7 separate regions of the Homo sapiens genome follow, and all the other regions are linked to region 2. Evidence: promoter capture Hi-C in 16 types of primary human blood cells and fetal thymus (Javierre and others, 2016). All regions are on one chromosome and are shown on one strand. Each heading gives the region's core, a stretch centred on a gene start or on the middle of the fragment in contact. The rest is flanking DNA. Distances are from core to core; before and after follow the strand shown.

Evidence for each region. Contacts are between HindIII fragments. The CHiCAGO score rates a contact against its expected background, and 5 or more counts as called.
Region 1: the fragment with the promoter of RRAGA here is called in contact with the fragment with the promoter of IFT74 in region 2 in 1 of 17 cell types (total CD8 T cells); the score reaches 5.7 in total CD8 T cells.
Region 3: a contact is called between a fragment that was not itself captured here and the fragment with the promoter of IFT74 in region 2, in 1 of 17 cell types (fetal thymus). The highest score is 5.1, in fetal thymus.
Region 4: the fragment with the promoter of HAUS6 here is called in contact with the fragment with the promoter of IFT74 in region 2 in 7 of 17 cell types (total B cells, non-activated CD4 T cells, total CD4 T cells and 4 more); the score reaches 18.7 in total B cells.
Region 5: a contact is called between the fragment with the promoter of SAXO1 here and the fragment with the promoter of IFT74 in region 2, in 1 of 17 cell types (total CD4 T cells). The highest score is 5.4, in total CD4 T cells.
Region 6: a fragment that was not itself captured here is called in contact with the fragment with the promoter of IFT74 in region 2 in 1 of 17 cell types (erythroblasts); the score reaches 9.2 in erythroblasts.
Region 7: a fragment that was not itself captured here is called in contact with the fragment with the promoter of IFT74 in region 2 in 1 of 17 cell types (total CD4 T cells); the score reaches 7.0 in total CD4 T cells.

What each region holds. Positions count from the first base shown.
Region 1 is chr9:19,047,742-19,051,576 of GRCh38, forward strand. RRAGA (Ras related GTP binding A) reads left to right here and starts at 1,686. Exons shown (of 1, transcript NM_006570.5): 1 at 1,686-3,284. The coding sequence starts at 1,919. The coding sequence ends at 2,860. It also overlaps a transcript of SAXO1 not described here. RefSeq lists an enhancer at 1,626-2,147 and a silencer at 1,755-1,944. The HindIII fragment of the contact is 15,757 bases long and covers 1-3,835 here.
Region 2 is chr9:26,954,506-26,958,725 of GRCh38, forward strand. It overlaps IFT74 (intraflagellar transport 74), which reads left to right and starts at 1,907. Exons shown (of 20, transcript NM_025103.4): 1 at 1,907-2,011. It overlaps IFT74-AS1 (IFT74 antisense RNA 1), which reads right to left and starts at 1,802. Exons shown (of 2, transcript NR_121605.1): 1 at 1,622-1,802; 2 at 1,275-1,510. RefSeq lists enhancers at 1,119-1,854, 1,855-2,589 and a silencer at 3,186-3,480. The HindIII fragment of the contact is 1,304 bases long and covers 1,428-2,731 here.
Region 3 is chr9:33,298,238-33,302,142 of GRCh38, forward strand. NFX1 (nuclear transcription factor, X-box binding 1) reads left to right here. Exons shown (of 24, transcript NM_002504.6): 3 at 3,026-3,184. Among named protein-coding and RNA genes, the nearest start is that of NFX1, 9.7 kb to the left of the region's middle. The HindIII fragment of the contact is 7,607 bases long and covers 1-3,905 here.
Region 4 is chr9:19,101,137-19,105,065 of GRCh38, forward strand. It overlaps HAUS6 (HAUS augmin like complex subunit 6), which reads right to left and starts at 1,768. Exons shown (of 17, transcript NM_017645.5): 1 at 1,388-1,768. The coding sequence starts at 1,515. RefSeq lists an enhancer at 1,447-2,010. The HindIII fragment of the contact is 8,228 bases long and covers 1-3,929 here.
Region 5 is chr9:19,031,290-19,035,365 of GRCh38, forward strand. It overlaps SAXO1 (stabilizer of axonemal microtubules 1), which reads right to left and starts at 1,920. Exons shown (of 4, transcript NM_153707.4): 1 at 1,582-1,920. The coding sequence starts at 1,619. RefSeq lists enhancers at 1,242-1,795, 1,796-2,349. The HindIII fragment of the contact is 8,262 bases long and covers 1-3,339 here.
Region 6 is chr9:19,152,930-19,157,000 of GRCh38, forward strand. No RefSeq gene overlaps it. Among named protein-coding and RNA genes, the nearest start is that of PLIN2, 27 kb to the left of the region's middle. RefSeq lists a cis regulatory region at 1,141-1,729. The HindIII fragment of the contact is 1,679 bases long and covers 1,116-2,794 here.
Region 7 is chr9:19,224,437-19,228,172 of GRCh38, forward strand. No RefSeq gene overlaps it. Among named protein-coding and RNA genes, the nearest start is that of DENND4C, 4.4 kb to the right of the region's middle. The HindIII fragment of the contact is 1,072 bases long and covers 812-1,883 here.

The DNA of each region.
Region 1 (3,835 bases), core at 436-2,935, 7.9 Mb before region 2:
AGGGTAAAAACAAAGAAATTTTCAGACATCCAATCTCTTGAAATTTTTACTCTCCTCATACTTTTTATCTGGAAACTATTGGAACATGTGTTCCACCAAATGAGCCAAAAATGAGAAGATGTGAAATCAGGAAAAAGAATACCCAACTCGAAAGAACGGGGAAGGGAAACCCCAGAATGGTGGTGAAAGGCGATCAGATAAGAAGGCTCCAGAAGAGGTAGCACCAAGGAGATGAAACTGAATACATTGAGAGGAGATTTTCCACATACTATATTGTATTATGGAATTTCACTCTATGATTTCCATAAACTACAGCAAAGGCCATTTTTGAACTTCTTTTACTGCACACGTTAACAGTAGGAATTAAAATATTTTTTGAATAAATGAAAGAATGGAATACCTGAATTTGTACAGTACAGTATACACTTTGATAAGGGCTTTAGGCCAGGCACGGTGGCTCACGCCTGTAATCCCACACTTTAGGAGGCCGAGGCAGGTGGCTGGCTTGAGTTCCAGACCAGCCTGGCCAACATAGTGAAACCCCGTCTCCACTAAAAATACAAAAATTAGCCGGGCGTGGTGGCAGGTGCCCACAATCCCAGCTATTTGGGGGACTGAGGCAGGAGAATCGCTTGAACTCAGGAGGCGTAGGTTGCAGTGAGCTGAGATCGCGCCACTGCACTCCAGCCTGGGCAACAGAGTGAGACTCCGTCTCAAAAGAAAAAAAAAGGACTTTAAGGTAGATACAGAGGCTTCAGTATCCTGATGACTCTCATTCATTCTGTATGAACGATACTGGCGACACTGATTCACTCATCTACTTGAAGACCAAGAGCAGAATCATATTATGCTTTGAGAGGGGCACAGGGTAGCCTATTGTTAGGCAAATAGACCGCAGCAAGATTGTCTAAAACCAAATTCCATTTCATCATTTAGTATCTGTGTAACTTGGTCAAGTGACTTAACCTCTCTAACCTTTGATTCCCTAACTTGAAAATAGGGTTATTAATTCACAGGGTTACTGTGAGGATGGAACTAATGCCTGGGATTCCACATTATCATTTCCTCGAGCTTTGGAATTCTAATTATAAATTCTAAAGTCTGAGATTACGGAAAAGCAGATGTGAGAAAGGAATTAAAAGCACCCACTGGAAGCCAGGATGTCTCCTAGGAGGGACTTGCTATTACCTAGCTGCGCAGCAACAGGCAATCGCTTGCCTACAAGTCTCACTTTCCGCGCCTGCACAGTCTCCATCTGCCCTGCCCTTGTACTCACTGGGCCGGGCAAGCTGGGGAGGCCTAAGCGGACTGGGAAGTTAGGCTTTCCCTCCACTTCACCAGTCGGCTGCCCCTGCGGAAACCGGCCCGACACACCTCGCTCCTAAAGCCAGTTGCGGTGGTGGTGGCGGTTGGGGCTTTTTTTGGCCACGAGAGGGCAGCATTTCCCCCGGCCAACCACACACGTACCCCTAGCAACAGCAAACCCAGCTGCAACAGAACAAAAGACCGAAGTCCTCGAGCTTCCCTTCCATCTTAGGGCTCACGCCGCCCCGGTTAGGTTTCATTAGAGCAGCGGCTTTTCAAGGCTCGTCGGGCACGGAGGGCGGAGCGAGGGAGCTCTCGCGAGATCGCCGCCGGAAGTGGGTGGTGGCGGGGACGCAGCGGCTCCCTCCCGGAAAGCGAGCGTATCTCCCGAGCCGTTGCCACTGACAGCCGCGGGCGCTCCCATCTGAGTAAGAGCCAGCCCGTCCGCGGCCTCTCCAGCCCCGGGTTCGCGCTCTCGACTCTCCTGCCTGCCCAGCTGCGCGGCGGAGCGGAGCGAGGCGCGGCCTGCGAGTCCCCGGCAGCCCCCGACCCCTCCCTCGGCGCTGCGTGTAGGCCGCGCCCTCAGGCCCAGTCCGCGGTGCCCCGGCGGGTGATGCCAAATACAGCCATGAAGAAAAAGGTGCTGCTGATGGGGAAGAGCGGGTCGGGGAAGACCAGCATGAGGTCGATAATCTTCGCCAATTACATTGCTCGCGACACCCGGCGCCTGGGGGCCACCATTGACGTGGAACACTCCCACGTCCGATTCCTAGGGAACCTGGTGCTGAACCTGTGGGACTGTGGCGGTCAGGACACCTTCATGGAAAATTACTTCACCAGCCAGCGAGACAATATCTTCCGTAACGTGGAAGTTTTGATTTACGTGTTTGACGTGGAGAGCCGCGAACTGGAAAAGGACATGCATTATTACCAGTCGTGTCTGGAGGCCATCCTCCAGAACTCTCCTGACGCCAAAATCTTCTGCCTGGTGCACAAAATGGATCTGGTTCAGGAGGATCAGCGTGACCTGATTTTTAAAGAGCGAGAGGAAGACCTGAGGCGTCTGTCTCGCCCGCTGGAGTGTGCTTGTTTTCGAACGTCCATCTGGGATGAGACGCTCTACAAAGCCTGGTCCAGCATCGTCTACCAGCTGATTCCCAACGTTCAGCAGCTGGAGATGAACCTCAGGAATTTTGCCCAAATCATTGAGGCCGATGAAGTTCTGCTGTTCGAAAGAGCTACATTCTTGGTTATTTCCCACTACCAGTGCAAAGAGCAGCGCGACGTCCACCGGTTTGAGAAGATCAGCAACATCATCAAACAGTTCAAGCTGAGCTGCAGTAAATTGGCCGCTTCCTTCCAGAGCATGGAAGTTAGGAATTCCAACTTCGCTGCTTTCATCGACATCTTCACCTCAAATACGTACGTGATGGTGGTCATGTCAGATCCGTCGATCCCTTCTGCGGCCACTCTGATCAACATTCGCAATGCCCGGAAACACTTTGAGAAGCTGGAGAGAGTGGATGGCCCCAAGCACAGTCTCCTTATGCGTTGAATATTGCCAAATGCTCTTTCTGAAAATGCTGAATTGCCTTTTTTGTTTGCATCCTTTATTTTTAATATTCATAATGTCGTGTGCTTAAAAGTGGGCTTTGAAGTGTGTGCTGCTTACTCCTTTCATCTTTCTCCCCGCTTCCCCAGTCTTTAAACATTGGACGCTATTTACTCAGCTACCCAGTAGAGCTTGAAGCTGACCTTTCTGAGAAGTTGGTATGGTGTAACACTAAAGTAGGTGGTTCGTGTGTGTTCTCATTACCTGGTTATGATAGATATGCACATCAAAGCCTTTACCAGTATCTTCCTGTATTCCGTATCAGATTGCAAAGACGGAATGTTACTATTTTATCAGCAAGGTATTAAAATGCATTTATAAATTCTTCTTGGCTTCATTCATGAATAAACGTGTTAGCAATTTAAAACATGTCCTTATTTGAAATAACTTGAAAGTGCTTAATATGCAAATCTAAAAATTCTGACTGCCCACAAGTATTGCTTGACTGGCAAATTTGATTCTGTGAATTTAGCCCCCAGCACTTTAGTGATGTTTGGTAACAGCTGTAGAAGCGCTTATGCTATGGACTGAAGCTAGACCACCTGAGTTAGTATTCTGGTCCCTTCACTTACTAGCTCTGTGAACATGGGCAAATACTTAATTTCATTACACTTGTTTCCTCATTGGTAAAATGTGGGTCAGAATACTACTTTATAGCCAGTCGTGGTGGCTCACACCTGTAATTCCAGCACTTTGGAAGGCTGAAGTGGGAGGATCACCTGAGATCAGGAGTTCGAGACCAGCCTGGGCAATATAGAGAGACCCTCTCTCTACAAAAAAAAATTTTTTTTCATTAGCTAGGCGTAGTGGTGCGTGCCTACAGTCCTAGCTGCTTGGGAGGCTGAGGAGAGAGGATTGCTTGAGTCCAGGAGGTAGAGGCTGCAGTGAGGCATAATTGTGTCACTGGCCTCCAGTTTG
Region 2 (4,220 bases), core at 657-3,156:
TAATGTGCCAAAGTTTACCTTTTAACAGATAGGAATAGTACAGGGTGCACTGAGGACATATAATGAGGTGGGGGGCCAGAAGGAGTTGGAGCACTAATCTAGTATGGACTGGCAGAGAAGACCTCTCTAATAAAAGACATTTGGGTTAAGACCTGAATGATGAACAGGACTTTGGACAGTGAAAAGCAGAGGGACAAAGATTCCAGGAAGAGAGAATTGCAGTGAAAAGGACTAGAGACAGAAAGGAACTTGAAACACAAGTAGTCTTACAATAAACTTAAAATTTGACATAACCTAATTACTAACCAAATTACAACTTGATATAACCTAATTCCAATTTGATATAACCTTAAAAGCAACAGAACCTAATACATAATGATCCAAAGTCAAATAAGATATGGTGCCTACTCTAAGGAAGCTCAGAGGCAAATAAGTGAGATGTATTCCTATTCTCTATTCCTTTTTCATCATGAAAAAGAAATGGGGACAGGGATCAATACTTACTACCTAAATGAGCTTAAGCAAATTATTTAATCTCTTTAAAACTTGGATAATAGTATCTGTCCTGCCAATTTCAACTGTTAATATCTGTCAGGGTCCTTAAGTGCAAGGAACAGAAATCATCTATAAATGATATAAAAGCTGAAAATGAATTTATTAAAGGACATTAAGCAGCTCACAGACTCTCCCAGAAGCTGAAGAAACAAGCTAGAGGTTCTCCTCCCAATAAAGCCTCTGAGTACCTAACACTGCAGCTTGCAACAACACACTGATGCTGGACACTGGTTGCTGGTGATAGAACATTGCAGTCTCGGAAACGATGTAGTTACTGCGGCTGTCACCCTTACTTCAACAGACTCTCTGAAGTCCTGCTTCTGGTTGTCATTCAAGTTTGAGTTGAGTCCACCAAATTAGATTGGAGAGTCTAGCAAGCAATAATACTCATGTCCCAGTAATAAGGAAGACTAGGAAAGCCAGTATCTGTCACTTTCAGTTCCTGTAAGGGTGTTGGGGGGCAGGGTAAGGGAGAAACTCTGCCAAAAGGATGACAAATGGCCACTGCAAATAGGGTGAGCTCAAATGAGATAATTACATGAAAATGTTTCACAAACTAAGGGAGAATTCAGCCACATAACATTATCTCATTTTGTGTTGTATTGATTTTTAACTCCTCGAAGGCAGGCAAGTTGGAAATAATGTGTAAAATAATGTTAAAATCCCAATACATATGCAATCACATTTAAGCTGTTATCAATGAAGATTGGAAGGAAACATACAGTAAAAGTTATTTTATTAGAGAAGTGGGATTTAAGGTGAAGTAGTTCTTAAATTAAAAAAAAAAAAAAAAAGGACACTTTCCATTGAATTCACAGTCTTCCCCACAAACTTGGATCCAAATTCTAATGAAAGGAAGCTTAAAGACGCAAAGCTTCTGGTGAAAGCAGGAACGGAACAGTTGGTGCCAGAATCGCATCCATACTTCATGATGCGTTGTGTACGCTATGCCGTCCTAATAGGAAGGAAAACTACCACAAATTAGGAGTTTAGAAAATTGCACAATGCTGCCTACCACTTAACTTCAAATGTAACCTGTTAACAACGTTAGCCGACGTGAGGTTACCTAGGGACATAGCAAAACTCGCTAGAGTTACTTCAAGTAAGGCACACGGAGGTTGCTCTGATTATCAAGAAAACCAAACGTTCACATAAAATGTTTGTCTTCCAGCCGCCCCGCTGTTTTCCACTTTTTCCAAAAAGCACTGAAGCGTGGTGAAGAAACAAACATATCCTCAATTCTCGCGAGAGCTCCGTGTGTAACCAAGGGCTGAGGCGGAGGATTGGTCACTCAGGATGAGGAGCCTCCGCTATCCCGCCCCCGTTGCCGGGATACGCCGCGGCGCACGGCAGTTAGTGGGTAGGCCTGAGAGCCGAGGAAAACTGAGCGTGGGCCTCAGAAAGAAGTTAAGGCACCCGCGAGCCGGGCAACTGCCCTCCTTCCGCGCCGGCGGAGGTGAGAATCCCCGGGTCCCATCTCTTCCTCCCTCCCTCCCACGTCTGTTCTCTTGCCTTGGAGATGCTGATCCGCTCCAAACAAAACAAATTCAAACTCGGTCTTAGCTAACTGTTACCGTCGGGCCTGTAGCCAGGCCAGGCATGTACCAATTCTAGTCGAGCGAAGGTTGCGAACAGACCTCCTCCAACAGCCCGACCCCTCCCCGACCCCCCGCAGGAGACCCGCCAAGCACAGAGCAGAGGGAAGGACCGCGATGGGCTGAAGGATTTTAGTCAAAGCAATACATTTCTGCCTCTTACAGTGGAAGGGACTTATTTCTGTCTGTTGATCACAGTGCGGGCAGTTAGCAACTTTCCACTTATTCACCTGTGTGAGAATGGTTGGCTTAGGGAGGATAACGATAGTAATAATAATTAGAAGCAGATGTTTTAAATGTAATACTTATCGTCTTCACAACAGCCCTGCAAGGTAGATGTCACCCTTCTGTTTTACAGAAGATGAAATCCTGAGGGGTTAATTAAGGTGGCAAGATTATGCAGCCGCTAACTTTGTCAGCACTAGTTTGTATCGCTAATCATTCTGGATCCAAAGGCCAGGCTGCCTCTCTGTGTGAATAATTGGAAATTGTGTGACTCTTTGATTGAATAACCCCGAAGTTAGTGGTATATTTGTTGCTAATGCCCGCCTCTTAATCCCACTGGTAATAATATAATGGTAAGCTTTTTTTCACCACAGTAAAACGGTGGCAAAGAAAATTGGGTGAAATTTTTTATGTTGTACATTTTCTCAAAGTTAGCAGGAAACCTAGAGTAATATCTTTTCCACTGGAAAGAGATGTTTATTGTACTCGTTTTCTTCTGGAAAAACCATTTTGATCATACACCGTCTTCCTTTTCAAAGAGTCATTTCATGAAATTCCTTTTTCCATTTGAAATTCTTTTGCTTTGTACATAGAGTTCAAAATGGCAAGGAATTAGAATCAGGGAGCTAGTGGGGTCAGGAAGATTGATGTGAACATATTCAAATGAGATATCTGAATGGAAATTTCAGATAAACAATTGAAAACTCAAAATTGGTGCCCAGTTGAAAGGGCAGAACTGTAGACATTGATTAGTGAGCCGTACACATAGTTGGAGTTATAAAGATGCATGACTGTAGAAAGGATAGAAGCAGTCCAAGGACTGATTACGAGTAATGCTAAGAAAAGTCAGAAAAGTAGTACTGGACATAGAGTGTAGAAACAGAGAAATCATTTTAGTCCAACACACGCTTTGTTTGCCTTTTTTTTTTTTGAGACGGAGTCTTGCTCAGTCGCCCAGGCTGGAGTGCAGTGGCGCGATCTCGGCTCACTGCAAGCTCCGCCTCCTGGGACTACGCCCGCCACCACGCCCGGATAATTTTTTTTTTGTATTTTTAGTAGAGATAGGGTTTCACTATGTTAGCCAGGATGGTCTCCATCTCCTGATCTCGTGATCCACCCGCCTCGGCCTCCCAAAGTTCTGGGATTACAGGCGTGAGCCACCGCTCCCGGTCGCTTTGTTTGCTTTTTAACAATTTAGTAAATTTTTGTAATTGGCAATACCTTTATGTACGAGGAAATTTAAAAGATACAAGAGAGAACAAAGTTTTTGCTTATCACTGAGACAGATTTTGGGGATATAAAGATGATTAAGATTCAGCTCTTGCCATAAAGGGTGAGAAATACTTAAGCAGATCATTTCAAGTGGTGTGATAGGTTCTGGAATAAAGTAATACACAGGATGCATGGTAGCATGTAGAACAGGCCTATACACTGAAATTGAAGAAGACGAAGATTCCAAGACCAGTTATGGACTGGTCATGGAAGGATTCCCAGAGAAAGTAATAGGCAAAATGTGTGTTAGGCAAGGGGACCACTTAAGAGGCTGGTATAATAGTCCACCTGAGTCAGTGATGCCCTGAATTGGCCAGTGCTGTAGGAATAGAGAGTAAAGTACCTGTTAAACACTTAGGAACAAAATCAGTAGAACTAAACAAAACAAACTCAGTAGAACTATGTGACCAGCCATGGGAGTAAGGGAGAGGAAGATGTCAAGGACTAAATTTCTTACTTGTGTGACTAGGAGGTGACACCAAGAGGAAGGACAAATTTTGAGCAGATGATAATGAGTTTGGATTACATATGTTTATTTTGAAATATTTAGACATCTAAGTGGAGATGTTATTA
Region 3 (3,905 bases), core at 1,350-3,849, 6.3 Mb after region 2:
CAGAGACAAGAATGAAGTACAGAAATGCACCATGTGGCTAGCTTGAGAAAGAGCATTCTAGGCAGAGGGAGGAGCAAATTTAGATGTGGGGAGGGGTATTATAGGCAATGAAGATAGGGGCAGGAAAGGTGGTCAGAGAAATAGCAAGGGCTGGATCATGTGAGTCCCTTGGATTTGGTTCTGAGTAAGATGAGAGGCTGCTGGAAGGTCCTGGGAAGAGGGATGTCATGAACTTACATTCTAAAATAATCACTTAGGGTCTGGATGTGGTGGCTCACATCTGTAATCCCAGCACTTTGGAAGGCCAAGGCAGAAGGATTGCTTAAGCCCAGGAGTTCAAGACCTGCCTGGACAACTTAATGAGACCCCATCTCTGCAAAAGGCAAAAAAATAAAAATTAGCTGGACGTGGTGGCACATGCCTATAGTCCCAGCTACTCAAGAGGTTGAACTAGGAGGATCGCTTGAGCCCAGTGGGTCAAGGCTGCAGTAAGTAGTGGTTGTGCCACTGCACTCTAGCCTGGGTGACAGAATAAGAACCTGTCTCAAAAAAAAAAATATTATTAAGCTGCTGTGTGGAGAATAGGCTCTAAGAAGGCAACAGGACAAGTTAGGAGGCTATTGCAGTTGTTCAGGTAGGAGATGATGGAGACTTAGACTGGAGTAATAGTGTGGAAAAGGTAACAATTGGATAGATTTTGGATGTATTTGGAAGGAAGATTTTATGCCTGAGCAACTTAAAAGAATGGAATTGGCATTTACTGAAGTGTCAAAGCCTAGTAGAGAAAAAGGTGTTTGTCTGTAAAATGTTTCAGTTTGGAATAATTTCAGATTTATAGAAAAGTTGCAAAGATAGTTCAAAGAATTCCCATATATCTTTCACCCAACTTCCTCTAATGTTAACGTCTTACATAACCAGACTGCCTTTGTTAAAACTAAGAAATTAGCACTGGTATAATCATATTAACTAAACTACAGATGTTATTCAGATTTCACCAGTTTTTCTGCCAATGTCCTTTTTCTGTTTGAGGACCCAATCCAGGATACCACGTTGCATTTAGTCATGTCTCCTGAGTCTCCTACCATCTCTGACAGTTTCTTCATCTTTCCTTTTTGGAAAAGATGTTTCTGCTCTTGTTTTATTTACTTCTTATTCAGGGAAGATTTTTGTTTAATTTGGTTAAATTTCTGTAATCCCAGTACTTTGGGAAACCGAGTCAAGAGGATCACCTGAGCCCAGGAGTTCAAGACCATCCTGGGCAACAGAGGTAGACCCCATCTCTACAAAAACTAACAAAAAAATCAGCCAGGTATAGTGGCACACGCTTGTGGTCCCAGCTACTCAGGATGCTGAGGTGGGAGGATCGCTTGGGCCCAGGAGTTTGAAGATGCAGTGAGCCACGATCATGCCACTGCACTCGAGCCTAAACTTTGGTGACGCCTGTAACTTTCACAGAAAGAGGTTGTGGAACAGACTAAATATCACTCATTTATTCCTTTATCCATGAATTTAACAAATATTTAATGGAGCACCTAGTATATGCCAGACACTGGAAATACTACACTCAGCAAGGTAGACAAAACTCTCCCTTCTCCTGAGCTTTCAGTCTCAGGGTGTTCTCTATTTCTTTTGACATTAAACTGAACAATCAGAAAGTAAATCTTAGGAGAGCCAATATTATGGAATATTACAGTGTGCGCTTTTGAGTCAGATAGTTTGACAAGTTTGAATTTTGACTTTTAAATTTCTAGTTGTGTGACCTTGGATAAATGATCTAACTACATGAAGCCAGTTTCTTCATCTGTAAAATGGTACCTATGTTATAGCATTTTTTTTTTTTTTTTTTTTTTTTTTGAGACGGAGTCTCACTCTGGAGTGCAGTGGTGCAATCTCGGCTCACTGCAACCTCCGCCCCCGGGTTCAAGAGATTCTCCTGCCTCATCCTCCTTGGATTACTACTGGGATTACAGCCACACTCCACCACGCCCAGCTAATTTTTGTATTCTTAGTAGAGATGGGGTTTCACCATGTTGGCCAGGATGGTCTTGATCTCCCGACCTCATGATCTGCCCGCCTTGGCCTCCCAAAGTGCTGGTATTACAGGTGTAAGCCACCGTGTCCAACCTGTTACAGCCTTTTTGAGAGGACTAAATAATAATATGTAATGTGCTTGCAATGTTGTATTTAAGGTTAATTTTATTCTTTTAACTTATTTAGACCTGAAAGCAAATAACAATAATATTATGAAATAAATGCAGTGCTAAAAGTATGTACTCAAAAAAGCATATACACACACTCACACTCAGTTTTGAGAGTATCTGGCTGTATTGAAATCTAGAAAGACTTTGCTGCAATTGTGTTTGAGGAAAAAAATCTGGAAGTGGGTGAAGGTATTCAGGAATAGATCTGGGAGGATTATTCTGATACTACACACTGGTCTGTGTCACTGGACTTTGAGCTCCTGGAGCCAGGGACTGTAACACCACCATGGGGCTTATGGTAGGCACCAAGAATATCTTTGTTAAGTGAATGACTAAAGACTTTGAGGGCAACGGCTAGAGCCATCTCACCACTCATGGGTTGTTGGAACCTGCCCAGACTTGGGCTTCTTATAGCTGACACTACAGCTTCACGAGCCTCTTTCTAACCTAAATCCATGGATCTGATAGATTTAGAGGATCCTGGAAAATAGAAAATGCAAAGCAAGATCCTGTATTGCCCAGTGGATCCTCAGGCTATGTTACAAGGGGCATTTGGCTACTCTGCTGTTTTCCTGGGAATGTTTCCTTAATTGTGGGAATCCCCACCTGAGTGTCTCCTTCCTAAATCCTCTTCCTCAGCAAATTCCTGCCCCTTTTTGGCCTCAGTCTGAATAGCCAGCTGCCTTACCCAGAATCAGATATCCCTTAAAATCTCTGTGTTTGGATTCTTCTCTTGAGTGACTTGCTGATCCTTGGTTGATTAAAGTGAGGAATGGTTTTTTGTGTTTGAGTTAATCTTTTTTGTTATTTTGTTTTTTAAACAGGTTCTCTAATTGAACAACTAACAACAGAAAAATACGAGTGCATGGTGTGCTGTGAATTGGTTCGTGTCACGGCCCCAGTGTGGAGTTGTCAGAGCTGTTACCATGTGTTTCATTTGAACTGCATAAAGAAATGGGCAAGGTCTCCAGCATCTCAAGCAGGTCAATTAATTCTCTCTTCTGAGTAGTTATTCTCCCCTATTTGATACGTTTAAGTATTATTAAGCCCAGCTTTAAAAATACAGTTTAATTTCTCTTAACTACTTTTTCTGCAGGGAGAGTATGTTACCTTGATCATGTGTTTCATATGACCAGAATTAAGTTATAGATCTTAAATAAACCAGCTAAACAACAATATTAAAATATATTTTAAGATACGACAAAATCAGTCACTCTTATTGAAAATGATGGCTTTTACTTATTATTTTTTCTTTGACCTACTGATTTTATTTCCTGTGGATACATAAACAGAAGTGTGATTGCAGGATCATATGGTAATTCTATTTTTAATTTATCTTCTTCTCATTTTTGGCCAGGCATGATGGCTCACGCCTGTAATCCCAGCGCTTTGGGAGGCCAAGGCAGGCGGATCATCTGAAGTCAGAAGTTCAAGATTAGCCTGGCCAACATGGCAAAACTCCATCTCTACTAAAGATATAAAAATTAGCCAGGCGTGGTGGCGGGCACCTGTAATCCCAGCTACTCGGGAGGCTGAGGCACAAGAATTGCTTGAATCCAGGAGGTGGAGATTGCAGTGATCTGAGATTGCACCACTGCCCTCCAGCCTGGGTGACAGAGCAAGACCCTGTCTCAAACAAACAAAAAAACATTTTTTTTTCATTTTTAAATTTTTACTATGCATACGTAATAGTTTACATGTTTA
Region 4 (3,929 bases), core at 518-3,017, 7.9 Mb before region 2:
TCCCATTTATCCTGATCTGATCCTTATACATTGTATAAGTGTATCAAAATATCAAAATTTTATATCCCCAAAATATGTACAACTATGAACATAAATAAAACAGGCCAGGCTCGGTGGCTCACATCTGTAATCCCAGCACTTGGAGTGGCCAAGGCGGGGGGATTGCTGGAGGCCAGGAGCTCAAGACCAGCCTGGGCAACATGCCGACCCTAGGCATGGTGCCACGCACCTGTAGTCCCAGCTACTCAGGAGGGTGAAGTGGGAGGATCGCCTGAGCCCAGGAGTTGGAGGCTGCAGTGAGCTGTGATCGCACAACTGCACTCCAGACTGGGCGACAGAGTGGGAGACCCTGTCTCAAAACAAAAAACAATGGCTCATATCTATAATCCCAGCACTTTGGAAGACCGAAGCAGGAGGATTGCTTGAGCCCAGGAATTTTGAGACCAGCCTGGGCAACATGGTTAGCTACTGTCTCTAAAATAATAATACTTTAAAAAAATAGAGGCCGGGCACGGTGGCTCACGCCTGTAATCCCAGCACTTTGGGAGGCCGAGGCAGGTGGATCATGAGCTCAGGAGATCGAGACCATCCTGGCCAACATGGTGAAACCCCGTCTCTACTAAAGATACAAAAATTGGTTGGGCGTGGTGGCAAGTGCCTGTAATCCCAGCTACTCGGGAGGCTGAGGCAGGAGAATCGCTTGAACCAGGGAGTTGGAGGGTGCAGTGAGCCGAGATCGTGCCACTGCACTCCAGCCTGGCAACAGAGGGAGACTCCATATGAAAGAAAAGAATTCCTCTTGGCCTACAGTGGGAATGATTAAATAGAGATACTGGCTAAAGTTGATAAAACAGAAGTGGAAAAAGTAGGGAAGGGGCTTTTACTTTCCATACTTTTCTTAAAAGGGTATTTGTTTTTAATACCCTTCTCCGTTGTTTTATGCTAACTCCAACATGCCTTACTAATTAAAAAATTAAAAATTATAAAATTAAACAACCACCTTCAAAGGCTCCCTTGAGTCCAAAAGGTGTTTTGTACATATGGTTCCCATGCTCTTCCACTACCACCCGCCATCCCTCCCACTACTTCACAGACCACCCCTCCACCACATAGGCAGAGTTAAGCTGCTCCTCCAGTCTTGCACTCTCCCCATCTGCAGACTTTTGCACTCCCCTACAGAGCGCTTCCGGCACTCTTGCATTATTTACTGTCTGTCTCTGCCCCTAGGCTGGCAGCAACTGGGAGTAGGAACTTTGGAGCCAATGCCTGGCACAGAGTAACTGCTCAACCAATTCTGATTAATCAACCTCCGGGGTCTACAAAAGGGGGAGTCCCCCGGCGTCCCCCGGTTCAGGCTCCCTCGCCCCGCCGGCCCCGGCCTCCTTACACTCCGAGGTGCGTGTGCGACACGATCTTTCCGCAGGCAATGGTTGCCGGGCCTGGCTCGAAGCCGAGCGCCTGCAGATACATCCAGAGATGCTCCTTCTCGAAAGCGGTGACCGAGGCCGAGCTCATCCTCGCGGTAGGCACGGTGGCTGCAAAGAAAGAAAGCGCAAGCCCAGGGGACTCGGAGGGCCCTCAAGATCCCTCCCTACGGTCAGCCTGAGGTCGCGGTGGTCCTTCCATTGCCAACGCCTGCTCCTTTCACGCCCAGAGCGATTTCGCCTCAAAGGGCCTCACAACCTCCGGGAAATTGAGTTTCTAACGGTATAGTGCGGCCACCACTGCCTCAGCGAAGCCACCACAAACCGAGACTCCCGCCCTTAAGGAAGAGCAGTGTGCGCCGGCGCCGCCAGGCGTCCGAGGGAGGAGGGACTTCCGGCAAAGACTATATCTCCCGCCATGCAATGCGTCCTTCTCTCCTCCCTTCCGGCCATGCCCAGCCAAGAAACTGCAAGACCCACCGGGCATTGCGCGGCCAGCGACTTGCTCTGCGCTTGCTTAACCGCTGTCGTGCCCAGATCCTCGGGCCTTCGGGTTTCTGATTCTTGGTTAGTGGGGTCCATTTGCTTGTGTATCCTAGTTGTTACGTCACAAAAAAGCCATAAATGGAGCACTATGCCTCGGTGTAGAGTTAAAGCATTGGTTCCATCCTCCGCTATGCTCACTGTGACTCTAATCAAGTCACGTAATCTCTGAGCCTCATTTCTGTCGTTAGCGAAATCTATGTCCTCAAATGCCGGATGTTCCTTTTCCTGCTTTAAATGAAATCTGGCTCTATACTCCCCTGCAGTCCTGCAGTCTTTTTTTTTTTTTTTTTTTTTTTTGAGACGGGGTTTCGCTCTTGTTGCTCAAGTTGGGGTGCAGTGACGCGATTTCGGCTCACTGCAACCTCCGCCTCCCGGGTTCAAGCGATTCTCCTGCCTCAGCCTCCCGAGTAGCTGGGATTAACAGGTGTCCGCCACCACGCCCGGCTAATTTTTTTGTATTTTTAATGGAGACGGGGTTTCACCATGTTGGCTGGCTGGTCTCGAACTCCTGACCTCAGGTTATCTGCCGGTCTTGGCCTCCCAAAGTGCTGGGATTACAGGCGTGAGCCACTGCGCCTGGCCGCCTGCAGTCCTCTTAATTTTTTTTTTTTTTTTTTTTTTTTTTTTGAGACGGAGTCTAGCTCTGTCTCCCAGGCTGGAGTGCAGTGGCGCAATCTCGGCTCACTGCAAGCTCCGCCTCCCAGGTTCACGCCATTCTCCTGCCTCAGCCTCCCGAGTAGCTGGGACTACAGGCTCCCACCACCACGCCGGGCTAATTTTTTGTATTTTTAGTAGAGACGGGGTTTCACCCTGTTAGCCAGGATGGTCTCGATCTCCTGACCTCGTGATCCGCCCTCCTCGGCCTCCCGAAGTGCTGGGATTATAGGCGTGAGCCACCGCACCCGGCCCGTCGTCTTAATTGACAGCTGTTGCCTACCACAAACCCCACTGACAACAGGGCCTGGAAGTGGATTGGGTAACCTGCTTTTAAGTCTCATTGCTACCTCTGGCAATGATTGTCTCCTGCCTCACTAAAATCACCTTAATAAAAGAGAGAGAGGCGGGGCACAGTGGCTCACGCCTATAATCCCAGCACTTTGGGAGGCCAAGGTGGGCGGATCACCTGAGGTGGGGAGTTCGAGACCAGCCTGACCAACATGTAGAAACCCCGTCTCTACTAAAAATACAAAATTAGCCGGGCGTGGTAGCGCATGCCTGTAATCCCAGCTCAGCTACTCGGGAGGCTGAGGCAGAAGAATCGCTTGAACCCGGGAGGCAGACGTTGCAGTGAGCCAAGATCCTTCCACTGCATTCCAGCCTGGGCGACAAAGTGAGACTCTGTCTCAAAAAAAAAAAAAAAAAAGAGGAGAGAGAGAGAGAGAAAGAAAGAAAAGCCACTAAGTTGCCCAGGCTGGGCTCGAACTCCTGGGCTCAAGCGACCTGCCCACCTTGACCTCCCAAGGAATGAGCCACCGTGCCCAGCCTAAAAGCACCTTTTGAAGTTTATGCTATCACCCATAGCTTTTCATTATGGAGGTCATCTGTAAGATCTCTGACTCCATTCTGGTGGTGCACGCCTGTGGTCCAGCTGCTCAGAAGGCTGAGGTGGGAAAATCACGTGGGCCCTGGGAGGCTGAGGCTGCAGTAAACTGTGATTGCACGACTGCACTTCAGCCTAGTGACAGAGCAAGACCCTTCTCAAAGCAAAAGAACAGCCACAAAAAAAAAATCTCTGACTCCTGTCGACAAAAAGAGTCAAAGTCTGTAAAATTGTTGCCGGAAAAAACAGAGTCCTGATCCAGACCCAAAGAGAAGGTTCTTGGATCTCGTGCAGGAAATAATTTGAGGTGAATCACAGAACACAATGAAGGAAGCAAGTTTATTGGAAACTACTCCGTTGAAGAGCGGAGCAACCTCAGAAAGCAGGCGGAGGAACACAAGGTCCTTTGTTACTGTCTC
Region 5 (4,076 bases), core at 670-3,169, 7.9 Mb before region 2:
AGTGGCTCATGCCTGTAATCCCAGCACTTTGGGAGGCCGAGGCAGGCGATCACCTGAGATCAGGAGTTCAAAACCAGCCTGGACAACATGGTTGAAACCCTGTCTCTACTAAAAATACAAAAATTAGCCAGGCATGGTGGCATGTGCCTGTAATCCCATCTACTCAGGAGGCTGAGGCAGGAGAATCACTTGAACCCTGAGGCATAGGTTGCAGTGAAGCGAGATGGCACCACTGCACTCCAGCCTGCGCAACAGAGCAAGACACTGCCTCCAAAAAGAAAAAAGAAAGGCGGCCTTAGAAAAAAAGGTTTTGCTTGGTAACATGTAGTCCTAGACTATACACTGCTCTGGCCCCACTTAACAAAGCTCAAAAGCAAGACCCACGTTTGTACATGATCTAGTTCAGTGAGTCCCAGTCCTAGCAAATGGCCAGAATCACCTTTAGACAGTTGACAGGGCCCACTCTGAGAGTATCAATTCAACGGCCTGAGCAACTGATAGTTTTCAAACTCCCTGTGTGATTCTAATCAGCAGCCAGAGTTGGGAACCATTTATTGATGCCAGAGATATAGAAGGTTGCTGATCCAGTTTTTAGAGTGCCCTTTAATTCTCCACACTACTGATACCATTTTTATATGCATGTGTCATATTTGCCCTTTTTTCAGATTTCAGGACACTAACATATTAAGCACAATCCATGTACCAGGACTCACATACATGATCTTAACTCTTACAATAGTCCTATGAGGTACGTATTGTTGGTACAGATGAGGCGACTATGACCTGGAGTTTAGTTACCAATCTAAGATCCCACAATTAATGACAGCCCAGGAAAGGTGACCTCAGAACCCTCTTGCCTGTTGCTCCTCTGCTGCCCACTCCCTGCCCCAGCCAAGCAGAAACCCAGCTGCCCTGGGAAGCAGATAGAAGGAGCCTCTAAGAGATCATGTGAGTGACAGCAGACCAGTCAGCCCGTGGGACTCTGACTAAAGTCCATGATTTCCCCCAGGACCACCTTTACTGCGCTTCCACCCAAAGATGGTCCTTAAAGGTTAGAAGGGAGACCTGGCAGGCCAGGCGACTGTGAAAGTAATGTTTTCATTATCCTTATTCAACTCTACACAATGTGGAACAAGTTTTACTAATACCTTATACTTCTCTGACAAAGTAACAATCTCTCTGAATGAGAAATTCAGTTATACTACAGGAATTCTCCTCCCATCCTATCACTTTCCCAAAAGGAGCAAGACTGGTCCCACTGGGCCAGGTGTTCTCCCTCCTTGGCTGACACTTTCTGGGCTTCAGGGAAGGGAGTGCAGACTGCGCGGTCACGCCCATTTTCAACCCTCCTGCAGTTCTCAAGTGAAGCGGCACAGAAGGCCCGAAAACAGCCACATTCGCCAGAACTGATGTGGCGTCCGCGGGCACAACGCTAGTTGACACAATTGTGGCTTAAAAAACGTAGCAAGTGGACGAACCCACCGTGATGCCGCCTGATGAAGCAGCTGGGGGAGGCTTCCCTTCCTCGGGAGTCTGAAAACCCAGGCTCCCCCAGCCTTGCCCTGGGCGTGGCCACCTTACCCGCAGGAGCACAGTTCACAGATGCACTTCGTCTTCATAGGGGCGATCCTGAGGCCCTGACGTCCCCTCAGAGCATCGCCAGCTGCAGCCGACTCCTAGACCCCAACCACCTGTCTTGGGGCACGCCCAGGCTCGAGGGTCTTGGCAGGTGTTCTGTTTACTCGAAGGAAAATTTAAGTGGCCCTTTTGCAATGTCCTGTCGTCTGTTGCCCTCCTGGAGCTGGCCTAGCGCGAGGTAGCAGCAGGGGGCTTGCACGCGCGCCAGCCCGGGAGACCTCACCCTGCACGCCACCGCCCCGGCCTCCGCAGTCCAGACTTAAGCACCTGGAGCGGCTGACTGGGCCCCAGGAAGCTGCGGGGTCCGTGCCCAGGTAGCCTCTGTGATGTCGCCAGGGCCAGGAGGGGCACGCCTCAGGTGGCAATTACATCACAAGAGCCGCTTGTGAGGTCGGGAAGCTCCCAGCACCTCACTGGCAGGCCCAGGACAGGGGTTCCCCGGTGAACCTTGGAAAAACCTGAAAAAGGTGGAAGTCACTAGAAAGCTCCTGGTGCAGTAAACGGTCACACGTGCAGAAAAGCTGAAAACTCCCTCACCATCACCTTGGGTGGCATTTGCTATCTCTAGGATCCATGGTGCCCCCTCTTAGGGGAATACAGCCTTGACTTCCAAAAGGCTTGCCTTGAACAGGGTTTCCAGATCTTCCTGTGGAAACCTAGGCCTTTGGCTTCAGATGTCTGTTAGAATTGCTCTCACCCACAGACCTGCGCTCTTGAGAACACAGTGGTTTAAGAGCGCCCAGGCCTTCACTGCTCAGGTGGGTTCTCAATCACTTCTCCAGATGCTGGTAATGATGCCTTGAAGCAGGCGTTCTCAAATTCTAGTTGGCATCAGGACCACCTGGCTTGATGAAAACCAGATTGCCAGACCCCACCCCCAGTTTCTGATTCAGTGTTTCTAGGGTAGGCCAAAGACTTGCATTTCTTACAAGCTCTCAGGTAATGCTGGTTCTGCTGGGCCACGGACCACACTTTAAGAACTACAGCTTTTGAGGTTCCTTTACACCCCCTGGAATAGTGTTTCTTCAGCTTACCTGATCCCGAGAGCACACCCCCACCCAGAAGTCTCCCTTGCATCAAAACCTCTAGTCCGGGAATCTAGCTTCAACAAGAAGCCAGGTGATTCTGGTCATGAAGCAAGTTCAAAAGACACTGCTCTGGCCAGTTGTTTGGACTTAAAACATTTTGACTTCCTGCTTATGGGAAATGGGAGCTTAAAGTATTGACAATCTTTATGCTTTTCTTTCCTATGCTTCCTAACTCTTTCCATTCATTTTAGTGAATGAGTCAGTCAGAGGCATCTTGGACTGCAAGACACTTAATATTCAGAGGGTTTCTTTTTGTGTGGGGGGGGTTAGGTTTTTTCCTTCAGTAATAGGCTCTAGAATAGAGGTCAGCAAACTATTGTCTGCAGTTGGCCACTTGACTCTATCTGGCCATTGAGCTAAGAATGGTTTTCATATTTTTTAATGGTTGAAAAAATTAAAATAATAATATTACATGACAAATGAAACTTACCTAAAATTCAAATTTCAGTGTCTGTGAATAAAGTTTTGAATTTTTTCAAAAAATTTGTGTAAACATTCCCGATTTTGCCTCTTGGCCCACAAAAGCTAAAATATTCACTATCTGACATTTTACAGAGAGAGAGTTCCAACCCCAGTTATAGGAAGTCAGCAAGGTAGATTCAGACAGGAGCAAAGCTTATTGATCATTCTTAAGAACAGTGGGGTGGGAAGCTGCTCCTTGCCTTCCCAGTAGGAAGTCAGAACTCTACAGGGGAGGATGGAAACATGGCCAGACAAAAAAGAGGTGGGAGCTATTGGAAGTCAAAGCAAAACCTGCATGCCATCCATTGCCATTGACAGAGAACATCACACAGTCCTTACAGAGGAAATACAGTGCTGGACACCAGCCTTCTCTTGATGGCTGCCTAAACATTATCCATAAATCTTTCAGCAGAAGAATGCCTGTTCATGCCCCCTGCCATTCAAACTGCCCTTGTGGGTGGCCACCTTGTCAACAATCATGGTACTCCCCACTTCCTCCATCCATGCCCTCAATAGAGGGTAGAGATCTTGAAAGATGAAGATGGTGTGGACAAAATAGCCTCAACAATGATATACCTAAAGATCAGTGCTAGACAGTAGGGACAACCTCCCCTCACCTAGTTACACTTACTGTCCATCTTTTGTTACATCCAGCCAAACTTACCCTGACCCATCTGATATGGTTTGGTTCTGTGTCCCCACCCAAATCTAATCTTGAATTGTACTCCCATAATTCCCACATGTTGTGGGAGGGACCCAGTGGGAGATAATTTGAATCATGGGGGCGGTTTCCCCCATACTGCTCTTATGATAGAGAATAAGTCTCATGAGATCTGACGGTTTTATCTTCATTTTTCTCTCTTGCCACCCGCCATGTAGGAAGGGTCT
Region 6 (4,071 bases), core at 705-3,204, 7.8 Mb before region 2:
TTGCAAACTCCTGAGCTCAGGCAATCCACCTGCCTCGGCCTCCCAAATTGCTGGGATTACAGGCGCGAGCCACCGCACACAGCCAATGCTAACTTTTTCTTATGTATCCTTTCAGAAATATATATATATATATATATATATATAATTATTTTTTTTTTTTGGTATGTTGTCTCTCTCTGTTGCCCAGGCTGGAGTGCAGTGGTGCGATCTCGGCTCACTGCAACTTCTGCCTCCCGGGTTCAAGTGATTCTCCTGCCTCAGCCTCCTCAGTAGCTGGGATTACAGGCGCCTGCCACCACACCTGGCTAATTTTTGTATTTTTAGTACAGACAGGGTTTCACCATGTTGGCCAGGCTGGTCTTGAACTCCTGACCTCAGGTGATCTGCCCGCCTCGGCCTCCCAAAGTGCTGGGATTACAGGCGTGAGCCACCGCGCCCAGCCCTCAGAAACATTTTATGTGTATTTCTGCCTCCAAAATAATTTCTAAAATTGCTAAAAGAATGTCCCTTAGAGAGTAACTAGTGTTCAGACTGGGCTAATGTTATTTACATTCCTCTATTTTACTCTAATGTATCTAATTTCAACCTTATTTGGAGGCATATTTTTTCAACATTTCACTCTGAAGATTTTTCAAACATACAGGAAAGTTGAAAGAATTGTTCAGTGGGGCCAGGTGCAGTGGTTTACGCCTCTAATCCCAGCACTTTGGGAGGCCAAGGTGGGCGGATTACTTGAGGTCAGGAGTTTGAAACCAGCCTGGCCAACATGGAGAAACCCCGTCTCGACCAAAACTACAAAAATTAGCTGGGTGTGGTGGCAGGCACCTGTAATCCCAGCTACTCGGGAGGCTGAGGAAGGAGAATCACTTGAGCCCCAGAGGTGGAGGCTGCAGTGAGCTGAGATCACACCACTGCACTCCAGCCTGTTAGACAGAGCAAGACTCCATCTCAAAAAAAAAAAAGAAAGAAAGAAAAGAAAAGAAAGAAAGAATTGTTCAGTGAACACCCACACTCCCACCACCTAGATTCTGCAATGACTAATTTGCTACATTTACTTTAGGTATTGCTATTATTATTCTCATTTTACCGCTGATGAAACTGTGTCTTGTTGCAAAAGCTTCTAATGGTATCTTGCTTAATCTTTTTTTTTTTTTTAATTATTCCAGCATTTCAACCAAGGTCCAAAGAGATTAACGTTCCCTGAGAAGAATTTCAATCCAGTTTCTTGTGTCCGAATATGGTCTGTAGATAAGGCCCAAAGAACACAAGTTCTCTTTTTCACTTGTAATTGCGCCATCCTTTGGCCCTTATCATTCCACGTGGTGCTGTTCTCCCTAACAGTTTAACCTCCCTCAGCTGACCTCCTTCTTCTTGAAAGCATGGTAGCTTTTAGGCATGTGAGGGAAGCAGACCAGGCATCCCAGCTGACTCATCTGTTTTTATCTCAACAGCCTACATGGACAACCACTTTTCTACTCACAGTGTGTGGTTCACAGACCAGCCGAATTACATCATAAATGCACAGTATCAGGCCCACCCAGACCTATAGAATGAGAATCTGCCATTTCACAAGATGTCCAAGTGATTCCTATGCACATGCCACATCATTACAGTCTCACTTCAGCCATGGTTAAAAGGAGCCCAATGTGATTTACTGGTCATACGTGGAAAAAAAAAAAAGAGTAGTTCATGACATTTTTCTTGATCAGCCATGGTAACTCATGTCTGTAATCCTAACACTTTGGGATGCCAAAGTGGGATGATCACTTGAGGCCAGGAGTTCAAGTCCAGCCTGGGCAACATAGCAAGACTATAAAGAAAAATAAAGACATTTATCTTTAAAACAACCTTTCCTTCTTCTTGTTTTTACATCTCATTTGCCTCTTTACTCCCTTTCTTCACAACCTGTAATTCCACTTATTGAGCCTGCTGTGTATGCTACGTATGAGGAACATTATTGCTAACCCTCAGAGGTTTACAGAAGATGTTTTATTCCTAATTTACAGATGAGGCTCAGAGGATTAGAAATCCACCTAATATTAAACAGCTGTAAATATTAAGTATGTTCTTTTCCAAGACCTACTGCTCTCTTTCTACTGTAAAACAATGTATTTCCAAACTCTGGCAATTGTCTCAGCCTAGACGTTTCCCACTAGGGCCAGAGAGCTTATGTCTGCCTGTCATCAAAGGCTTGTGGACTTGTCTCTCTCTCAAGCCTCTTTCTCATGTCTTGTTCACTACTAGTTGACCTGGATCTTGTTCTTTTAGCTCCCAGGCATCAACCAGGTGTTCTATAATCTAAGAACTTAGGTAACACCTGTGCATTGTAATGATAGCCTCCTACAGATGGTGAGAGGAGGTGGGAGTGAGAAGATGACAGACAGGTGAAGAAATATTTGGCGAGGTAGGATGCACTCTGCCAGGGCATGCCCCATTTCAACCTAAATAAAGAGCTCAAATAGCTGTTGTGCATATGGTATCTTGCTAATGCCTATGCTGGGTACAGAGATCTATAAAATGTAATTCCTGCCCTTAATAAGGATAATTAATCCAGCAGGGGAGCTAGAACATGCACACATAAAAGCCCCATGAACAAAGTACAGCAGGAACATAGAAGAGAAGCTGCTTCTGGGTGGTGAAATAGATGATTACAAAGAGCATGGGATGGGAGGCAGAGAGCCTCTCAGGCAAGGGGAGAATGTGCAGAAACAGAAGGAAGGAAAAGCACCTTTGGGGAGTCTCCTGCACAGAGCCCAGGGTGGCTGATGGAGAAGGTATGTTAGATTAAGGGGGAAGCTTGGGAATGCCTCATAGGGAGTCACTGAAGGTTGATAAGTAATGTGATCAGAAGTGGGCAGTTCGGTTACTACTTTGGCAGAGAATGTGGCTCAGAGCAGACAGTGACTAGATTGAGCAAGGTGACAGATTCATACCTAGAATGAAACTCAGAGAACAGGTAGACAAGCAGCTTTCAAACTTTTTGGCCCTGAAACCCTTTGTACAAATGAAATGTTAGTCAGCCATTGTAAACAAATAGATTAAAGCTAAATTACTCTGGTTGGAATAAGTGGGAGGGAAGAACTGAGTTCTTTCCTTCCTCTCATTTCTTTCTTTCTCTCCAAGTGGATTCTGAAGGGGCTTCTTGTTTGAAAATCAATGATCAAAGGGCTTAGCAAACCACAACCAGCTCCTGCCTGCCACCTGCTTTTGCAAATAAAAACCTATGGGGATACAGCTATGCCTCTTTGATTTCATATTGTCTCTGCCTGCTTTCATGTTACAATGACCAAGCTGAATAATCAGGACAGGGAAACCCCATGGTCCACAGAATTGAAAGTATTTGCTATCTGGCCCTTTAAAGACAAGGTTTGCCAACCTACCATCTAGGGCTTTATTACAATGCACAGGTGTTACCTATGTTCTTGGTCTGTGGTCTAAGTGTCATCCTTAGACACCAGCACACATTGTCCCTCTGTGCACAGATAGCTCAGGGTGGTGAAGGTTGATTTAGGAGTCATTGACAGCCAGGCGCGGTGGCTCATGCCTGTAATCCCAGCACTTTGGGAGGCCGAGGTGGGCGGATCACCTGCAGTCAGGAGTTCGAGACCAGCCTGACCAAAATCCAACATGGAGAAACCCCGTCTCTACTAAAAATACTAAATTAGCTGGGCATGGTGGCACATGCCTGTAATCCCAGCTACTCGGGAGGCTGAGGCAGAAGAATCACTTGAACCCGGGAGGCAGAGGTTGCGGTGAGCCGAGATCACACCATTGCTCTCCAGCCTGGACAAAAAGAGTGAAACTCTGTCCACCCCCCCACCCCCCCGAAAAAAAAAAAGGAGTCATTGCCTTGGAATTAGGAGTTAGGAGTTGTGTGAGATGGCTTATGATCAAGAGAGAGGGTCCAGAGAGAAAAGAAAGGAGGTTCTGAGAAAACCTTCAGTAATGGCTAGATTTAGAGAACAGGCTGAGGGAATCATAGGAGAAATCACTGGGAAAAGTACCAATTCTCATTGATGCCAGAAAATTATGACACATTGGGCCGGGTGCAGTGGCTCACGCCTGTAATCC
Region 7 (3,736 bases), core at 98-2,597, 7.7 Mb before region 2:
TTTCTCCTCAATATGTAAATATGAAATCACCAAAACTGAGACTGAGGGACTCTGGACAACTCAGTAAATTTGGCTGGGGCTTAATTTCCTCATCTTATCAAATCAGTTAATTAGAATAGATGATCTCTAAAGATTGGCATTCAGCTCCAAACTTCTGATTCCATAAAATACTTAAAAAAGAAGACTTTTTTATTACAGAAAAATTCAAAAAGCCATAAAAAGGAAAGGAACTCTTAAGTACCAATCACCCAACTTCCACATGTGTCTAATCTTTTTTACCTAACCCCTACCTACTCCCTTCTCTTTCCCGCACTCCTCCCCATCTCCCACGGATTATTTTGAAGCAAATCCTAGACAACATATGAAACACACTCTTAACAAATTTCTCTTCTATCAAAGGTGGTTTATAAATAACAGATGAGATAAAGTCAGTCTTTCCGGCTGGGTGCAGTGGCTCACGCTGTAATCCTAGCACTTTGGGAGGCCGAGGTGGGTGGATCACGAGGTCAGGAGATCGAGACCTTCCTGGCTAACAGGGTGAAACCTGTCTCTACTAAAAATACAAAAAATTAGCTGGGCGTGGTGGCGGGACCTGTAGTCCCAGCTACTCGGGAGGCTGAGGCAGGAGAATGGCGTGAACCCGGGAGGCGCGGGTTGCAGTGAGCGGAGATCGCGCCACTGCACTCCAGCCTGGGCGACAGCGCGAGACTCTGTCTCAAAAAACAAAAAACAAAAACCAAAAGTCAGTCTTTCTACTTTTCCTACTTTTTCTTACTGCAATTGTAAACACTATCATTATGGTATTAAAATAAGCTTGGATCAGCATTACAGGATGCCAAGTCATATGCTGAATGAATCCAATCATATTCACTAAAAGAAGAGCTACCATTAATGAGCACTTGTTACCTTCCAGGTACTGCTGTATTAGTTATGTGTTGTCGTGTAACAAATTATCCCCAAATTTTGCAGCTGGAAAGAAGAAGCATTTATTACCTCACAGTTTCTATGACTAAAGAATCCGGGAGTGGCTTAGCTGGGTGATCTGGATCACGGTCTCTCAGGACGCTGCAATCAAGATGTTGGCTGAGGCCATGCTCATCTCAAGGCTCAGTTTGGGGAGGATCCACTTCTAATCAAAATCACAAGGAAACCTGATGGCATGGTACCTAGTTTCCCCAAGAGCAAGCAATCCAAGAGGATGAGACAAAGAATTTAAGACTGAAGCCACAGTCTTTTATCATTTCATCCTGTTAGAGTTATCCTATCAGTTTTGAAGTACTCAGTGTATTAGAAACCAGTCAGTAAGTTCACCCCACACTCAATATGAGGGGATTACACAAGGATATAAATGGCAGGAGGCAGGAATTGTTGTAAACCATACTGAGAGGCTGCCTATCACATGTGCTGATTATTGATTCCTGAACTGATGTGTTTAATATTTATAGCCTATTGTAAATTAATAAATGATCTTCTTTGTGAATATCATTCTACTTACTTTACAGATGAGGAAAAGTTAAGTAACTTACCCAAGAACAGAGAGAAAGAAAGTGAGAGAAGCACAGACTGATTTATGCCAGGCATTCATCAATTATTATTATTATTATTTTTAACTTTTTTTTTTTTTTGAGACAGGGTCTAGGTGTCACCCAGACTGGAGTGCAGTGGCACGATCTTGGCTCATTGCAACCTCCGCCTTCCAGGCTCAAGTGATCCTCACACCTCAGCCTTCCGAGTAGCTGGGACTACCGGCATGCACTACCACACCCAGCTAATTTTTTGTATTTTTGGTAGAAATGGGGATTCGCCATGTTGCTCAGGCTGGTCCTGAACTCCTGAGCTCAAGCGATTTGCCCACCTTGGCTTCCCAAAGTGCTGGGATTACAAGCTTGAGACACCACACCTGGCCCATCAATTAGTTTCTGAGAGACTATAATATATATGAGTTACTCTGCTAGATCCTAGGCATCCAGAATAAAAACATATAAATACACATCTGTGATATATATTACTCCTGCCCTCACAGGGCAATGATTAGAAGTTTTTGAAGCGGGGCTGGGCATGGTGGCTCATGCCTGTAATCCCAGCACTTTGGGAGGCTGAGGCGGGCAGATCACGAGGTCAGGAGTTCAAGACCAGCCTGAACAACATGGTGAAACTCCGTCTCTACTAAAAATTACAAAAATTAGCCGGGTGTTGTGGCGCGTGCCTGTAATCCCAGCTATTCAGGAGGCTGAGGAAGGAGAATCGCTTGAACTTGGAAGGCAGAGGTTGCAGTGAACGAAGATCACACCATTGCACTCTGGCCTGGGCGACAGAGCAAGACTCCATCTCAAAAAAAAAAAAAAAAAAAATCATGTTTTTTTTTTTTTTTGAGACAGAGTCCTGCTCTGTCGCCCAGGCCGGAGTACAGTGGTGCAATCTCGGCTCACTGCAACCTCTGCCTACCGGGTTCAAGCGATTCTCCTGCCTCAGCTTCCTGAGTAGCTGGGATTACAAGCGCACACCACCACGCCCGGCTAATTTTTGTATTTTTAGTAGAGATGGTGTTTCGTCATGTTGTCCAGGATGGTCTCAAACTCCTGACCTCAGGTGATCTGCCCGCCTCGGCCTCCCGAAGTGCTGGGATCACAGGTGTGAGCCACCGCGCCCGGCCCCAAAAATATCTTAAGGAAATTTTCAACATTTTCATTCCACTCCTTTGTGTCACAGTTCCACGGAAATCTGCAGTGACCACGCCCAGTCAGAAGGCAGCAAGAAGGAGCTTTCTGCTAGAATGTCTGTGTTCCCCTCTTCGATGGGCTGATTTTTTCCTATGCATTCTTCTATCTACATAGGCCCAACTAAAACTGTGACACTATAATCATTATAACAATTATGTTGATATCGGGCTCTCCGACTCTCCTACTTTTTATACAGTCAAATATTATTATTATTTTTTTGAAACAGGGTCTTGCTCTGTCCATCAGGCTGGAGTGCAGCGGTGAGATCTCGGCTCACTGCAATCTCTGCCTTCTGGGTTCAAGAGATTCTCCTGTCTCAGCCTCCCTAGTAGCTGAGATTACAGGCACCCACCACCATATCTGGCTAATTTTTGTATTTTTAAATAGAGACGGGGTTTTATCACATTGGTCAGGCTGGTCTCAAATTCCCGACCTCCGGTGATCCACCCACTTCAGCCTCCCAAAGTGCTGGGATTACAGGCATGAACCATGGTGCCCAGCCTTTATATTAAAATTTAAAATGAGGCCGGGTGTGGTGGCTCACACCTAGAATCCTAGCACTTTGGGTGGCCGGGAAGCAGGCGGATTGCTTGAACTCAGGAGTTTGAGACCAGCCTGGGCAACGTGGCAAAACACTGTTATCTACCCAAAAAAAAACAAAAACAAAAACAAAAAAAACAAAAAATTAGCCGGGTGTGGTTGGTTGCGCACGCCTGTAGTCCCAGCTACTTAGAAGGCTGAAGCAGGAGAAGCGCTTGAGCCTGGGAGGTGGAGGTTGCAGTGAGCCAAGACGATGCCATTGCACTCCAGCCTGTGCAATAGAGCAAGCCTCTGTCTCAAAAAATATATATATATATAAATATATATATATAAAATTTCAAATGAACTTATTTCAGTTCTGGGCCCCTAAGCATGCAGTTGGGAAGGTTGCTGAATCAAGAACTTCCAGATCTGAGAACAGTTAACTCACATGAAAAATTAGTCCCAAAACATTCAAGTTCATTCTATGAAATTTT